Regions from separate parts of the Homo sapiens genome. Here region 2 is linked to region 1. Evidence: promoter capture Hi-C in human tissues and cell types (Jung and others, 2019). All regions are on one chromosome and are shown on one strand. The core of a region is centred on a gene start or on the middle of the fragment in contact, and the rest is flanking DNA. Distances in the headings are between cores, read along the strand shown. Region 1 holds the start of MRPS2 (mitochondrial ribosomal protein S2). Region 2 holds the start of QSOX2 (quiescin sulfhydryl oxidase 2).

Region 1 (3,298 bases), core at 586-3,085:
ACCCCAGCCCAAGGCCCACTGGCTCTGCCCTGCTGCCTCATGTCCACCTGCTGCTCCAGCTCTTCCGCTACTGCGATTTAAGCCCCGCCACCTTCACCCTGAACGCCCACACCAACCTCCTCCCTGGCCTCCCACCTGCCCCTCCCATCCCCTCCCCCCACAGCAGTCAAAATGACCATGTGAGAATACAGGACCAGTCATTCCTCCTCCCCGCAGCCCAGAAGGCCCAGCCCGATCCGGGGGGACCAACCTTACAGGTTCTGCCCTCAGCCTTTCCATTTCTGAACCCGTGGAGTCCTGCAACCCCCAGCAGGCCTGCCCTATCAAGGGCTGTGAGCGCCACACCAAGGCACACAAGAGCGTCCGCCAAGCTGAGGAATAAACTCCTGCTTCTCTGTGGGGCTCTGTATTCCCATGTGGAGGAGGATGGGGCTGTAATCACCTAAAACTGACATAGGCCAGTTCAAAAGTGGCCCTAGAACCAGAGCAGGTCCCAGGTTCCTCCTGGGAACCGCCCCGGGCTCAGATGGGGGTGTCACCTACCTGTGCCGACAGCCAGCTTTGTGTCCCAGATGGACTCGGGCATCGAAGAGGCTTCTCACGGAAAACAGTTCCTTGACATTGAAGAAGTCAGAGTGCTTGAGGGGCTCATTCAAAATCTTGTCGTTGAAATCTACGGCAGGGAGGAGGAGCGACGCTGCGTCTCCCACCGGTGGCAGCAGAGACAGGCAGAGCGCAGTTCCCGCCCACCCCTGCTCCCAAGTGCCTTCTGTGACACCGAGGTGGGGAGCCGGGAGCCCAGCAGCCCCAGGAAAGACCTGGAAGCACAGGGACCTTTTCAGGAAACAGAGGGCTGGAGCCAGGTTCTGATCCCGACCTTGCTCCTGGGTAAGCCTGGTCGAACCTGGTCAACCCCGTCCCTTGGTCTTACTTGGAAGACAGAGGAGAAAAAGAGAGGGGCCCAGCGGGTTGCTCAGGTCTTTCTGGCACCTCCCCGCCTTGTGGTCTCAGGTGGCCAGCCAGAAAGTCCCCATCAGGAGTCCAGCAAGGTGGGCAGACTCCAAGCCCAGTGCCCCCAGGTCACTTGGGCCCGCCTGGGCGAGCTCGGGGCTCCGGGCCTCGGTGGTCCAGTGACACCCCCCTAGGGAGCGAAGCCTGTGCTAACCACTGGCCCGCCCGCTCCCTCTCACCCTATCCATGGTGAGGCGGTGGCCTCAGCCCGCTGTGCTACGTCAGGCAGGACCGAGCGGCGGCGAGCACGGGAGTGGGAGGAGCCCAGCGGAGCGCGCAGTTTCGACCGCGTGCAGCGCCCAGGCCCCTCTAGGGTTCGCATCCCCCGCGGCTGCCGGCCTCTCCTCGTTCCCACCCAACTCGGCTGGGCGCCCAGTGTTACCGGTGCTGTCCTCCGACTCGCGGATCATAAGGGCCGTCGCGCTTCCAAGCGTCCTGCGGCTCGGCCGAGCAGGCCGGGGGGTCGCCTTCCCGAGAAAGCCCAACCAGCGCGACGGGGCCCGGGCACCTGGGGGGAAGTAGATAGAGGTCCTGGCGCCGAGTCCCGAATGCACCACGCCCGCTCCCCACCGCATCCCCAACGGGCCCCTCCGCGTCCCTAACGGGTCCCCTCCGCGTCCCCGCGCCCTCCCCGAGTCCCCTCCGCGCTCGCCCCGGGTCCCCTCCACGTCCCCGCCGCTCCATCGGGTCCCCGCGCCCCTCCGCATCCTCCTCGCATGCTCCTCCCCAGGGTCCCGCAAGCGCGCGCTCACCCGCGCCGAGTATTCGGGGCAGCGCGGCCGAGGATGTCGCCATGGCTGGGACGCGGGGCAGAGCGAGGTCTCCCTCCAGGCCAGGCCGAGCGGCCTCCCCTTCCGTCGCCATCCGCGCGGGGCCGCAGTGCCGCCTACAGGCCCGGAGGAGCCACAGCGCTGTCCCCAGGCGGCTGGGACCTCCCTGCGGGGGCGGGGCACGCGAGGGGTCAGGGCCCGGGGTCCTGGGCTTGAGAGTCTCGGGCGGGGAGTGGAGCCACGGTCCTCGCCCTGCAGCTCGCCCCGCCCTGCTAATGGGACCGGCCAGCCCGGGAGGCCCCTGACCCTTGGGGAAGCCCGCTGGGCGATGGGGACCCTCGCCTCCCGCCAAGTGAGCTGTGAACCACGTCCTGCGCAACCTCTCGCTCTCCAAAACTGTTTGTAATATTTAAACGATATTTGGCTTAGGAGAATTTCATAAAGTTAGCCAGATCTCGGGTCTCAATTTAGACTCGGGGTGCTGGGGGGCATAGCATCCCTGGAGTACATTGGACAGCAAAAGTCCAATCGTTGCCTGCCGAGTGGACCTGCAGTGCTTAAACCCCGTCACCCGGCTGGCGGGGTCCCAGGCCCTGGGGTTTCTTTCGCCCGGGAGTCCACGCCCTGATGCTGGGGTGGCCCGGTCCCCCCGCGGGTGGCTGGGGGCCTGGGGCTGCCTCACACGACGGTCCCAGCAGGGAATCTCTCGCCGTCCCGACCTTCCCGGCCCTTGGGGAGTCGCCCGGCAGGTTCCGGACCCACCCGCAGAGGAACCCGGCCCACGCGCGGCGCCTTTAAGGCCCCTCCGCTCGCTCCCCAGTCACGTGACCTGGCCGTCGCTTGGCAACAGGACGCCGCCGAGTCCCGCTTCTCCTCCAGGCACAATGGCTGAGGAATGCCCCAGAGCGTGCGCGGAGCCTGTGGCGCCCAAGGCCACGGCCCCGCCGGAGAGGACCAGCGACTACTACCGCGTGAGCGCGGACCTGCCGGGCAGGTTCAACAACCCGGGGTGGTTCCGGGGCTACAGGTGAGGAAGCTGGGGCCCGCCTGGTCCTGGCGTCCACTGCTCGATAGCCCCGTGTGTGAGAGACCCCGCAAGACCCCCAAGGTCCTAGCTACAGAAATCAAGAAGATCGAGTGGTCATCCGGGGCCCGCGCTGTCATCGCCCGCCAGTGAGCGGCGACCGTGCTCCCTAGAGCCTCATACAAGGAAGTGGGGATAAGGGCAGTGGGGGGCAGGGCCGTGGGGGGAGAAAGCCCAGTTGTGGTCTCAGCTCCACTGATTTGTGTCGGGTGAGTCTCCTCTCCTCTCTACCCTGAAACTCCGCTGCGGGGCGTGAGCACAGCAGCACCTCCACTGTCTTGCTGTAGACTCAGCCAGCTCTGAGCTGCCACAGGGCATTGCAGGCTAAGAAGTAGTAAGAAACTCAATTCCTGTAGGCAGGTGCAAACATCTTGCCGTGCTCATCACACATTTGGTCCCTCAACAGTCCTCTAGGGCAGGGTCTGTTAGTATC
Region 2 (3,298 bases), core at 463-2,962, 750 kb before region 1:
ACCCTCTGCCTCCACCCAGACTCAGCCGACCCCTCCACCAGCACTGCCTCTCACCCCTCCCCGGAGTCCCTCCAGCTTGTGGAAGGAGGCGGCGGCCCCTCCCAGGTCCCCTGCTTCCCCTCCTGCCCCTCCTACTCTGCAACTAGAAGGGCAGAGCTGCATCCTTGCACCGATCCTTCCGTGGCCACCCCCCCATTCAGCATCAAAGTCTGAGTCTGCGGCCCAGGTTGTGAGGCCCCCTGGGTCTCGCTCGGGCTCTCAGCTTTTCTTCCCTCCCACGCTTCCCCCAGCTTGCTCCGCTCCCACCAGGTCCGGCTCCTTGCTGTTCCTCCAGCGTGCTCAGCACCCTTCTGCCCCAGGGCCTTTGCATGTGTGCCTCCTCCCTCACCTCCTTCTCCATTCGGGTCACCTTCTCAAAGACCTCCCCACCCTCCTCTGTACGGCAGCCCTGCTGGCACCTGCTTCCGTGTCCGGCTTCATTGCTTTTCATAGCACGCGGTGGCTGCTTTACGCGTTGGTTTGTTTGGGGTCTGCCCAAATGCAGGCCAGGGACACTGGGGGCTCGGTTTTGTTCTTGATTTGTCTCCAGGGCTTGGCACAGAGCAGAAGCCAGGAAACGTGGGTGATGGAAGGAAACATGAACAGGGAGACGCAGGACGTGAGGAAAAGGGAGCAGACGCCTTGGCCAGGGGCCCTCTGGGGAGAATCCTCTCATCTGGGGTTAACCATTGTTAGCAGCAAAACCTTTTAAACAAAATCTTACACAGAACCCCACAATACAGTTATCTATTTATTTTGAGACAAGGTCTCGCTCTGTCATCCAGGCTGGAGTGCAGTGGCAGAGTCACGGCTCACTGCAGCCTCAAGCTCCCAGGCTCAAGCCATCCTCCACCTTAGCCCCTCAAGTAGCTGGGACTACAGGTGTGCACCACCATGCCCGGCTTTTTTCTTTTTTTTAAGAGATGGGCTCTCGCTATGTTGCCCAGGCTCGCCCACTCCCTTGTTTTGTTTTGGTCACACAGTTCAGAGAAAATCTTGACATGTGTAAAAATTAGGAATAGGAACAAAAAAAAAAATCAGGTATCCTGTTCAATGAAGCAAAAAAGTCATATGATTTCATTTCCAAACCGTGAAGCTGCATTCGACTGGAACATCCTAAAAGGTAGCACACAACACATCTGACTTTGAGTGGATGTTTTGCTGCATTTTCTAAGCGTTCCAATATCATATTAAAAAGTCGAGGCTGGCTTGCAGACCCTCTGAAGCCCCAGGTGGGGTTGCCAAGTAAAAGAACCCCGGAATAGTTTTTTACGTCTAAGAATGTCTTGTTAAATTTGTATTTCAGGCATGGCACAGACCTAGGCTGAAAAACCGACTCACTGTTTGTCTGAAATTCACGTTGAACCTGGCGTCGTGCACTTCCATTTGCTAAATGTGGCCACCTGGCCCTGTTCAGGGAAGGGGTTTGGGGAACGCGCGGCGGGGTGGGGCGGGGCCTGGGCGGAGCCTGCCGCGCCTGGGCGGGGAGATGGCGTCATCAGACTCTTGGGGGCGGGGCTGCCACGCATGGGCGGGGGCGGGGGCGGGGAGAGAGGGCGGGGTCAGACGTGAGGGGGCGGGGCGGAACAGAACTGGGCGCGCGGGGGCGGGGCCGGGCGCGCCGGCGCACGTGACGGTGGTTGCCAGGGTGAAAGTTCAGCGCGCCGGCGGCACTTCCAACATGGCGGCGGCCGGGGCGGCGGTGGCGCGCAGCCCGGGAATCGGAGCGGGACCTGCGCTGAGAGCCCGGCGCTCGCCCCCGCCGCGGGCCGCACGGCTGCCGCGGCTGCTAGTGCTGCTAGCGGCGGCGGCGGTGGGGCCGGGCGCGGGCGGTGCGGCGCGGCTGTACCGCGCGGGCGAGGACGCCGTGTGGGTGCTGGACAGCGGCAGCGTGCGCGGGGCCACCGCCAACAGCTCGGCCGCGTGGCTCGTGCAGTTCTACTCGTCGTGGTGTGGCCACTGCATCGGCTACGCGCCCACTTGGCGGGCCCTGGCTGGGGATGTGCGAGGTGAGGCGCGCCCCCGCGCGGGGACCCCCCGACCCCCGGGACCGCGGCCTTCCGGGACCCCTTGCGACCGCCCCAGAAGGCGGGTCCCGGGGCCCCTCCCCCGTATTTCTTTCCTTACCGCAGAGCCAGTCCCTGCCCCACAGAGGCACCCGACTCGGACCAACCCTGGCCTTTCCAGGGGCGGGAGACTAAGCCAGCTGCTCCCCATGTCTCTCCCAGTTAATCCCCGTTAGATCCTGACGAGTTGGGCTGTCTGAAGTCAAAATGAAACCATTCTCCCGCAGCCCTCACCGCACGCTTGGGGATAGGGAAGCCCTCCCGTATCCCAGCTCTCAAAATACCTATGTTTTGAGCCCCAAGAACTTCATTGACCTTCCAGGCCTCCTACCCTACCTGTTTCCTAGCGTCCACACACCCCATCCCCAGTGCCCAGAATTCCTGTTCTCTGAGGATCCCTCATTCCTATTCCACACTCGTAGCCACCCCATTCCCTTTGAACCTTCATCATTAACTTTCTGGTTCGGATCGCTGGCCATATAGTGGGTGCTCAAAGTGAACCCACAACTTAGAAGTCCAAATACTCTGGAGACTTCTCTATAATACCCCAAAACAACCTATAAAGCAATTTTTTTAACTCTACAAAGAATTTCATTGGTGGGCTCCTTGATCACAGATGCACAGCCTTTGAGAAATCTTTCACCAAACTGCTGGTAGTGTTCCGCACTTTATTGTTTAGTGCTTTCATCTGGTCGCACGTTGTTAACCAGTCACGAAGTTACTCGCCTGCTCTACAGGTTAGAGTTGGCGTGGGAGGGGGCATTCACAACACCCTTCCCTTAAAATGGTATTTAAATCACTGAAGTAGGAGGTCCTCCCGACCCAGTGAGGTTTGGCAGGACTTCCTGTGTTGTGCTAACCTCAAATTACATGTTTCAGTGGGCAAGATCTGTAACAAATTGCTACTCTTTCTTCCTGCACCTTTGTTTTTATGCCTTACACCCAATCCTGCTGTATTTTTCTCATCGCAAACAGATTTGTAAAGAAACTTTTTTTCAAGTCTAAGTAGGGCTTTTGTATGTTACTGTAAATGGTTATCTTTAAAATGCATTCTCCTCTTAGAGAGCTGGGGCCTTTTGATTCTAATGGATTCCTCCTCTTTGATCTCATGTTTTCTTATGTCCCTGTTGACCTGACTCAGAACTGAGGTCAGAGACTGGAAGAGATGGACAGAAAAACTGTTCAGTGGGGTT

Evidence for each region. The method cuts DNA at HindIII sites, captures the fragments that hold promoters and counts their contacts. A contact is called where the count stands out against the background at its distance.
Region 2: a contact is called between the fragment with the promoter of QSOX2 here and the fragment with the promoter of MRPS2 in region 1, in 1 of the 25 tissues and cell types used here (mesenchymal stem cells).

Annotation. Positions count from the first base shown.
Region 1 is chr9:135,499,219-135,502,516 of GRCh38, reverse strand. MRPS2 (mitochondrial ribosomal protein S2) reads right to left here and starts at 1,835. Exons shown (of 4, transcript NM_016034.5): 1 at 1,764-1,835; 2 at 1,394-1,519; 3 at 544-673. The coding sequence starts at 1,806. It overlaps PIERCE1 (piercer of microtubule wall 1), which reads left to right and starts at 2,648. Exons shown (of 3, transcript NM_001048265.2): 1 at 2,648-2,808. The coding sequence starts at 2,666. RefSeq lists an enhancer at 986-1,610 and silencers at 1,566-1,725, 1,936-2,105, 2,376-2,545. The HindIII fragment of the contact is 18,925 bases long and covers 1-3,298 here.
Region 2 is chr9:136,244,226-136,247,523 of GRCh38, reverse strand. It overlaps QSOX2 (quiescin sulfhydryl oxidase 2), which reads left to right and starts at 1,712. Exons shown (of 12, transcript NM_181701.4): 1 at 1,712-2,048. The coding sequence starts at 1,721. RefSeq lists silencers at 1,475-1,744, 1,775-2,184. The HindIII fragment of the contact is 9,280 bases long and covers 1-3,298 here.